Linked DNA regions of Homo sapiens: region 1 is linked to region 2. Evidence: promoter capture Hi-C in 16 types of primary human blood cells and fetal thymus (Javierre and others, 2016). All regions are on one chromosome and are shown on one strand. Each heading gives the region's core, a stretch centred on a gene start or on the middle of the fragment in contact. The rest is flanking DNA. Distances are from core to core; before and after follow the strand shown.

The links. The method cuts DNA at HindIII sites, captures the fragments that hold promoters and counts their contacts. A CHiCAGO score of 5 or more calls a contact.
Region 1: a fragment that was not itself captured here is called in contact with the fragment with the promoter of NUP42 in region 2 in 1 of 17 cell types (erythroblasts); the score reaches 5.2 in erythroblasts.

The regions. Positions count from the first base shown.
Region 1 is chr7:23,504,252-23,509,059 of GRCh38, reverse strand. TRA2A (transformer 2 alpha homolog) reads left to right here. Exons shown (of 8, transcript NM_013293.5): 5 at 1,525-1,640; 6 at 2,794-2,922; 7 at 3,247-3,314; 8 at 3,491-4,280. The coding sequence ends at 3,501. Among named protein-coding and RNA genes, the nearest start is that of TRA2A, 25 kb to the left of the region's middle. The HindIII fragment of the contact is 2,798 bases long and covers 1,038-3,835 here.
Region 2 is chr7:23,178,557-23,183,679 of GRCh38, reverse strand. NUP42 (nucleoporin 42) reads right to left here and starts at 1,632. Exons shown (of 7, transcript NM_007342.3): 1 at 1,474-1,632. The coding sequence starts at 1,594. RefSeq lists enhancers at 1,268-1,337, 1,438-2,037. The HindIII fragment of the contact is 4,881 bases long and covers 572-5,123 here.

The DNA.
Region 1 (4,808 bases), core at 1,187-3,686, 320 kb before region 2:
AGCCTGGGGAAACATAGGGAGACTTGGTCTCTACAAATATATATATGTGTGTGAGAGAATAGGAAAAAAAAATTGTCCCAGAAACAAATAATACTCTCAGAGTTCTTTTCAAAGAGACCAAAGAGACAACTCTTATCTTCAAGAATTAGGCTGTGCAAGGCGGCTCATGCTATTTGGGAGGCTGAGGTGGGAAGGCCACTTGAGGCCACGAGTTAAGAGACCAGCCTGGGCAACAGATCTTGTCTCTACAAAAATAAATGCATGCAGGCCAGGCGTGGTGGCTTACGCCTGTAATCCCAGCACTTTGGGAGGCCAAGGCAGGAGGATCACAAGGTCAAGAGATCGAGACCATCCTGGCCAACATGGTGAAACCCCATCTCTACTAAAAATACAAAAAATTAGCTGGGCATGGTGGCGCATGCCTGTAGTCCCAGCTACTTGGGAGGCTGAGGCAGGAGAATCACTTGAACCTGGGAGGCAGAGGCTGCAGTGAACCGAGGTCACGCCATTGCACTCCAGCCTGTGCAACAAGAGCGAAACTTGGTCTCATAAATAAATAATAAAATGCATTCCATTGAATGGAATACTGTTTAGACCCCTTCTCTACCAAGAATTTTTGTTTTAATTAGCCGAGCATGGTGGCACAAACCTGTGGTCCTAGCTACTTAGGAGACTAAGGCTGGAGGATTGCATAAGCCAAGAAGTTTGAGGCCACAGTGAACTATGATCCACTGCCAGCCTGGGCAATGGAGTGAGACCTCCTTTTTTTTTTTTTTTTTTTTTTAATGACCTTTAGTTTATGGGACACTCTTACGGAGAAATATTTGTGGATACATAAAAATTGTGTAGTTTTTATTAGTTTATTATACTTTTATTAGTTCAGTCTCAATAAAAGGTTGAAAGGCATTACGATAAATTTGTTCTTGTCTGTTTATATCATTTCTTCTTGGCTGCTCACTGAGTCTTAATCAGTGTACTAGACTGCAAACTAAAGAATAAGATTGGGGGCAGGTTATAAAAAGAACATGTATAAAGCTTAGCAAACCCTTTTTAATGTTCTGAAGTCAGTCTTTGTAAGTGAAATCGCTGGAGACTAGAAAGTATGAAATGGCAGTCTACCTGGGCAACCTACAAAAAATTTAGCTTGAAAAGACTTCAGTCTCCGCTCCCCTGTTGATCTCATGGAGTGGGGAATGGGAATTGAACCAGAACTGGAAAATTATTTAGGAAAGTTTGTTAACTACTCTTTGTTGATCTCATGGAGTGGGGAATGGGAATTGAACCAGAACTGGAAAATTATTTGGGAAAGTTTATTAACTACTCTTTCTGCTGAGTAAATTTAAATGTGTTCTGGACATTGTTGAGGTCTAGAATTGTCTATACAATGCCCTGTACAAGCTACATTGCTGTCATTTTCAAAATCAGGAGTTTATTTGGATTACATATACTTTGTGCTTAATTTTAAGTAATGATTACTTCAAGACTGGTGAATTATACGTGACTTTTTGTGCCTGTTCTTTATAGGCTATGGAAAGGGCAAATGGAATGGAGCTGGATGGTAGAAGAATTCGGGTGGATTATTCTATAACCAAGAGAGCGCACACACCAACACCAGGCATCTACATGGGCAGACCAACTCAGTAAGAGTTCAAGTTTCCTAAGCTAAACTATGAAATCCACCAGAAATATGTGCAAAATTTTGATTACTCAGAAACTTTTTTCCTATAATTAGAATTGATTCTGGCAAGGGGCAACATGGCAAAACCCTGCTTCTACTAAAAAAAAATAAAAAATCAGCCAGGTGTGGTGGCACATGCCTGTAATCCCAGCTGCTCGGGAGCTGAGGCACAGGAATCACTTGAACTTGGGAGGCAGAGGTTGCAGTGAGCCTGGGCAACAGAGTGAGACTCTTTCTCAAAAAAGAAAAAAAACATAAGTAGGGGTTTTGATAATGTTTTTAAATATACAACCCTCCTGGCTGGCTCACGATGTTCATTTGCCGGGCGCAGTGGCTTACACCTGTAATCCCAGCACTTTGGGAGGCCGAGGCGGGTGGATCACGAGATCACGAGATCGGGACCACGGTGAAACCCCGTCTCTACTAAAAATACAAAAAATTGGCTGGGCATGGTGGCAGGCACCTGTAGTCCCAGCTACTCAGGAGGCTGAGGCAGGAGAATGGCATGAACCCCGGAGGCAGGGCTTGCAGTGAGCCGAGATCGCACCACTGCACTCCAGCCTGGGCGACAGAGCAAGACTCCGTCTCAAAAAATAAAAATAAAATATACAACCAAAGGCAGTATTCACAGAGGTATTTCTTGGGAATAAAAGAAGGAATATAGTCATTCCTTGGTATTCTCTTTGGTGTCCAGAGTTACTTAAAAATTCTTGGTGTTTATTGCCTTTTAGTCACAGGGATACACCTTTTATTCATTTATTTATTTATTTACCAGTCTCATTTAGCAGTAGGAATGCATCTTAGCATTTTTATACTGCTGCTCAACACAGTGCTTCATCGTTTCAATTTGTTGAAAAGATTTTAATTTGGGCAGTGCATTAGTAGAAAAGCAGTTAATAGTTTTGAGAGTTTTGTGAAGCCCTTCTTGATTATGTATGTAGGGAATAAGGCAAACCAGAATACCATGGGAGTCAGTAAAATGAGATACGGAGGCAATTTCTCATGAAAGGGATGTTCTTCCTCACTTTTCTCTTTTTTAAGCCATTCAATTTGTATTAAAGTGTCCTGGAAAATAGTCATTCACACTAATGGAGAATTTTTACATTTTTCTGCAGTAGTGGTGGGGGTGGTGGAGGAGGCGGCGGCGGTGGAGGTGGAGGTGGTGGCAGACGTCGAGATTCTTACTATGATAGAGGATATGATCGTGGGTATGACAGATATGAAGACTATGATTACCGATACAGGTAATGTTTTAACTTGAGCTTTCTGTTCTAAATTAGATGATAGTAGTGTTACTTGGCACTTTTATGTTGGATACATATGAATAAAAACTTGATTTTTAAAATAGATCATATATGACGCCTTTGGGAGCAGAAGTTAGCAGTCTGTATATGTCAGTATTTTGTTGTGCTATATACTTTTCTGGTCTCATTGGCAGAAAGAGAACTTAATATTAAGTAGTTATCACCTTAGGTACATTATTATTTTGAATGATGAGGAATTTTTATTTTCATCTGCCTCAGTGGAGTGATTATATAGTATGCTAAGTAATCTTTCATTTCTTACAGAAGACGATCACCTTCTCCTTATTATAGTCGATATAGATCACGATCAAGATCTCGTTCCTACAGCCCAAGTATGTGAACTTTACTTTTGTAGCATAAAAAACCTCATTTCTAATTAATGGCTTACTTTAGAATATTAGAGTATAAGGTGGAAGGTGGCAGTTAATAGTTGGAAAAATATGAGGCAAATTAAACTATAATTGTTAACTTTTTTTTTTTTTTTTTTTTTTTGCTTTTTCTCTTTTAGGACGCTATTGATAACGGAATGGTTGCAATTAAGGACATTTTTTTTCCTCTTTTTTTTTTTTTTTTTTTTAATTCTGAGATTTCCCCAAGCTGTGGATTCTTCCTACTCCTTAAGAAAAAAACTTTGGTTTATTTAGCATCTACACTTTTGTCAGTTGTGTTGCTGTTTTCCACCCATTTTATTATACTCTTAAAAGATGTAATTGTTGTCATTTTGAACAGTTAAACATCTTGAGTATAAAAAGAACCCCAATGTTATGTTATGCTTTGTAAATTTTTTTTTTTGCTTTTACCTAGATAAACTTCTAGCTAATCAAATAAGGAAAGAAACTGTCTTTTTAAAGCTTCTTTTGTGTTAGATACTGTATTAGAGATCTGCATTTATCATGAGTTCCTTTTTTTTTTTAACTTTATTTTTGGGAAAGTAACACATGAAGTAGTTCAGTCATGTCAGGTTTGTCTGGGGTGGAATGGAACAGTCAGGTAGTTGAAAGTTTTTTTTTAGAGATGAAAAGCTTGTGAACTCCTGTAAAACATGCTGTATTTGAAATACATCTGTTAAAACTTAAAAACTAAAGTGTGATTTTTTTTGTTGTTGTTAAGTTTATTGAAGTTTATTCCCTTAATCAGTGAAGGACAACCCTTATTTATTACCTAGAGCAGTTGTATAATTCGCTGTTAGAAATTTTGGTATTGGGACAGTGGATAAGCAGGTTATCACATAGCATAGAATTCTTAAAAGATACATGTGGGGAAAAGTAGTCTCAAATAAAAGCTAATTTCTTTGAAAATGGGATTGTCTCTTTATTGTGGTACCATGGAGAAATATGATTGAGGAACTGGTCCTTCCTTTTCCCTCACATCCCCCCAGTGTGTATTTATATGAAAGTTTACCCATCCTGAGTTTTAACTTCCCAATATTTCTCATTTTTAAAAATATTTTTTCTTACACTAGAATGTTATTCCTTGTCTTTTCTTTGGTTCTTTTAAAACCCTTGTTTTTCTTCTCTTTTGGGGGAGACCGAATTGTAAATATTGAGAATATTCAGTACCAGCACCATGCTGAAGGAAAGATAGGTAGCTAATACCTTTTTTTTTTTGAGACGGAGTCTTGCTCTGTCACCCAGGCTGGAGTGCAGTGGCGCGATCTCGGCTCACTGCAAGCTCCGCCTCCCGGGTTCACGCCATTCTCCTGCCTCAGCTTCCCGAGTAGCTGGGACTACAGGCGCCCACCACCACGCCCGGCTAATTTTTTGTGTATTTAGTAGAGACGGGGTTTCACGGTGTTAGCCAGGATGGTCTCGATCTCCTGACCTTGT
Region 2 (5,123 bases), core at 383-2,882:
CCAAATTTTGTTTACACTCACATTCATCAGACATGAGTCCTAATTTTCGGTCTGAAATATTTCACTAGATTAATTGTGGAGGAAATAAAAGGACTGTCTTCCCTGAAGTGGGATCAGACGTGAAACCATCACGCAATACAAGGTTTAAAGGTTAGATGAGGCCCGCCGCGGTCGCTCACGCCTGTAATCCCAGCACTTTGAAAGACGGAAGCGGGAGTATCACCTTAGGTCACGAGTTCGAGACCGGTATGGCCAAAATGGCAAAACCCTGTCTCTACTAAAAATACAAAAATTATCAAGGGCATGGTGGCGGGCACCCGTAATCCCAGCTACTCGGGAGACTGAGGCATAAGAATCGCTTGAGCCTGGGAGGCGGAGGTCGCAGTGAGCCGCCTGACTGAGAGAGCAAGACTCCGTCTCAAAATAAAATAAAAAAATAAAGGTCAGATGAATAGCCCTAAAGGAGGGGAAGGAAGGGAGACAGCACCGAATTATTAACCCGATCTTTAAAAATCTTGTGTTGTTCTAAGGTTTCATGTCTAATCTCTCCTTTCCTTGAAGATAAAAAGCTTTGACAATGATCTAGGCCCAGGGACTAGATCAACGTGGCCCCCGCATCTCCTTTCCTCACCTCCCGGATAGCCCTTAACTGGGCGTCCCACATTCCCAATTTCACCCCAAATTTATGAGCAGGTGCATTTTTGCGGTATGGCTCTATAGGTTTTATTAGATTTTCTTTTTTTCTTTTCTTTCTTTCTTTTTTTTTTTTTGATAGTCTCGCTCTGTCGCCCAGGCTGGAGTGCAGTGGCACGATCTCGGCCCACTGCAACCTCCACCTCCCGGGTTCAAGCGATTCTCCTGTCTCAGCCTCATGAGTAGCTGGGATTACAGGCGCGCGCCACCACGCCCGGCTATTTTTTTTTTTTTTTTTTTTTTTGGTATTTTTAGTAAAGACGGTGTTTCACTATGTTGGTCAGGCTGGTCTCAAACTCCTGACCTCGTGATCCGCCCGCCTCGGCCTCCCAAAGTGCTGGGATTACAGGCGTGAGCCACCGCCCGGCCGGTTTTATTAGATTTTTTCAAAGAAGTCCACGACTTCTCCAAAATGAAGTCCTGATTCTGACCCAAGCTGCTAGCCTCACCCTCGAAAAAACAACTTAGTAAAAATTATATTCAATTCCGGCATTTACCTACAAGGTAGTTTCGATAGGTACTTCCGATTTAAAAACTCAGTTTCGCACAAGCATCCAGGCCCAAACCCAGGTCCTCAGAAGCTCAATAAAAACGGACCACATGAATAATATGTAGATAAAACCCTCGGTTTAAAAACGTTGTGCAGGGCCCAGTAGGGCCGGCAAGGCCGCGACGCGGGCACGTTGGGGTCACCAGCAGCGGGAAACACGCGGGACGCCCGGTCCCCGCCGGCGGACCCTTCCCGGCTCGGTTACCGCGGAGGATTCAGAGGAGAGTCACCTGAAGGCTGCTGCTGCGGTTGCTGCCGTCCTCCTCCTGCACCCCTAGCACCGGGATGTTCGTTCCAGCACCGATCTCCAAAGCGGCACCGGCCTTGAAGGAAGAATTGACAAATGGCCATTGCGACGGCGTCGCTGACGGAGGGCGTCTTCAGTCTGCACCGTTCGATGCCTGTTACTGGGCAGAGAGCCCTAAGGCAACCTCGGCGCCCGGCCGGGCTACTGTGACGTCATCTTCTCGCGCCTGGGAAGGCCTTTTTCCGCCTCTCACCCGGCAGTGCCATGAGACGCATGGACTTGAGCCAATAGGACTTGAGAAGAGCGGACCGCTCTGACGCTTTGAGTGTGTCCTGGGAAGGAGGGATGCTTGAACGGTTACGTGAAGACCGGAGGCGCGTTTGACCCCGGTGCAGGGCCTCGGACTACAGGAAGGCTGGAGGTCCAAAATGAGAGGAAAGCGGAGCAAGCAAACGCAGAACTTCAGCAAGGCCCTCAGAGGAGAATTAGCTATGATTTGAGAGACTGAGTCGTTCTTGCTGAGACGGTAAAACTTAGCTTGGGCTGAGAAAGTAACAAACTGCCTAGCCTTTCATCTGGATGGATAACAGAGTCAAATAAAGCCAGACGACGTTAAGAGGAAACAATGTTTCTTTTAGGACATGCTGCAACGGAAAAGTATTACCACTTAAGTACATTCTTACTACACACTGAGAAACCTTGTTATTTCTTCTTTTTTTTTTTTTTTTTTGAGACGGAGTCTCGCTCTGTCGCCCAGGCTGGAGTACAGTGGCAGAGCTTGGAGGCAAGCTCTGCCTCCAAGGTTCATGCCGTTCTCGTGCCTCAGCCTCCCGAGTAGCTGGGACTACAGGTGCCCGCCACCACGCCCGGCTAATTTTTTTGTATTTTTAGTAGACACGGTTTCACCGTGTTAGCCAGGATGGTCTCTATTTTCTGACCTCGTGATCCGCCCGCGTCCGCCTCCCAAAGTGCTGCGATTACAGGTGTGAGCCACCGCGTCTGGCCGAAACCTTGTTCTTTCAAGTCCACATAAACGTTGCTATTTGAAATTATATCAGAACGAGTGAAAAGTCCCATCCTTGCCTGGAGGATCTAAGTCTCTTTGACGCAGAGAAGCAGCCTCAATTTCTATCCAGGTGTAGAGCTTCAGATAAACGGTTCTGAAAACATTCTGTATTTTCTTAACTTTGCAGTTTCCAAGGAAACATGCCCTACATTCAATTCTCGTCCAGACCTGATGTTAATGCCTTTACACACAGCTATGCTTTGAGATTTCATTTAAATTTCACCTAAACTTCACTCTCCCCGCCAAAACATACAATAACTACCTTTTATTTTGTACGGTGAGACACACCACAGCTCCTCTGGTGTGCAGTCTTCTTGATTGCAATAAGTCAATAGATCTGACTTTGTTGGATTACAGGTTTGTGCTGGTGGTTTTAGGATTATTGAGCTGGGAGTGAGCCATCATTCTTGCTCATGTAATTTGTTTGGATTTTGAAGACAGCAGAATCTACAGGACGGGAACTACTTGTCCAAACTAGTTTTTTATTTTCTTTAATCAATGCAATTCATTTATTTTGAAACAAATTTATGGAAAAGTTACAAATAACAGTACAAAGAACTTTTTTCCTGAACCATTTGAGACTATGTTGCAGACCTAATGCCCCATGATCCAAATACTTATTGTATATTTTCTACAAACAAACCAGGGCATTCTACATAACCACAACACAGCCAACAAAATTAGGACATTGATACTGATGCACTACTACTCTCTAATCCTTAGACTCCATTTATGTTTTGCCAAATGTCCCAATATTGTCCTTTAGAGGAAAAGGGTTCAGTTCGGAATCATTGTTGCTTAGTCATATTTCTTGTGTCTCCTTCAATTTGGAAGATTTTTTGTTTTTCCTTTTCATGACCTTGACACTATTAAAGACTACAGGCTGCTTATACTGTAGAGGTTCCTTAGTGCAGGTCTGTTTGATGTTTTCTCTTGATTAGATTCAGATTATGCATCTTTGTCAGGATTATCACAGAAGTGATGCTGCGGTTTTCACATTGCAGGTTGTGCACAATTTCAATTTGTCCTGTTACCTGTAATGCTCAATGGATTACTTGCTTAAGGTGGTGTCTGCCAAGCTGCTCTACCATAAAGTTATTCTTTTCCTTTTTGTTATTAATAAGAATTTTGTGGGGAGGTACTTTGAAAGTATATAAAAATCTGATTGTTCATCCAACTTTTAGCTCATTCACTTATTTATTTATATCAGTATGGACTCATGATTTCCAATGTTATTCAATGGGTTATAATCCATTACTATCATTATTTATTTTGATGCTCAGATCATCTCCAATTTGGCCAATGGGACCCCCTTTAAGCTCCTTTACACATTCGAAAAAGGAGAAAAAAAAATTCCCCATGATTACTTGAGCACTTTTTTACTTTCTGGTGCAGAGATGTTCCAGGCTCATTTTTACATTCTCTACTCCAGTCCTGAAATCAGTTATTTCTCCAGGGGTCCTTTTGGTGCTGCTTAGAAACCAAGATCTGAGCTTTAATGTGCTTATTGCTACTGGGATGTCTTTGCTGTCATGAACATTGCTGGGAAATACATATGTATAAACAAACACGAACATTTACATCAAACATTTCTATATTTTATATATTAAAACTATTATGCCTTCTATGTCAAAGACTATGAAAAAAAGAAAAAAACTTGAGTTCACACTGATAATCTCCAATTTCAATCCAAAATCACATGATTCATTTTATTTTCCTCTATTTTTAACTCCATTGATAACAAGAAACTTGGCTTTCATTAACCTTAGTATATTTATTTTATTACCACCTTGTGTTAACCAGTATTGCTTTGTAGCCACTGACTTCTCATTCCTGCACATGTCAGCATGTGTAAGGACTTTGCTGGGATCAAATACCTAAAATAATACCAGTGGTGACTGAAACTTAAGTGAGGGTAAGCCCAGTGCTTGGTGAAGGTAGAGAGGGGCAAGGCCAGAATGCCGGTTGAGACTGTCTAGGTGGAGTGTGTGTGAGACAATGAGAGCCTAGGGCTTGCAGGACTTGGTAGTGATCGGTTTGGTGATGGGTATATATAGGTGGAAATCAGGAGAGTGGGGTTACAGGAAGGAAACTTCTGATTTCTTCAAGATGGCAGAGGAAAAATACTGCTGCCTCCCCTTCCAATTGGATGAGGCAACTGTCTCGACTTGATAGGAGATAGGATTCCTCCCCAATAAAAAGGAATGAGAGACACTTCAGATTCTAGGACATCAGGTACAGAGAGGGCTTATGCTTATTGAATGGTGAGTCAAACATCCCAGAAAAATACCTATGGATCTCTTATGGACTAGCAACAAAAATAGTTGGCCATCTCCTCATCATATAATGAAGTTCATTGATTAAGCTCACCCTTGTACCCCTGAATTATCAATTTTCAGATGTCTCATTTAAATCCAAATGCACAGTCAGGGACTAGACATTTGAAGGCAGATGCCAACAGGAAAGAGCAAAGCAAAGAAACAGAAAAAGAAGTTAGAGGAAACAAAAACACTAAAATATTTTTAAAATTTAAAGAAACTAAAATATCATCAGAGAGGATAACATGA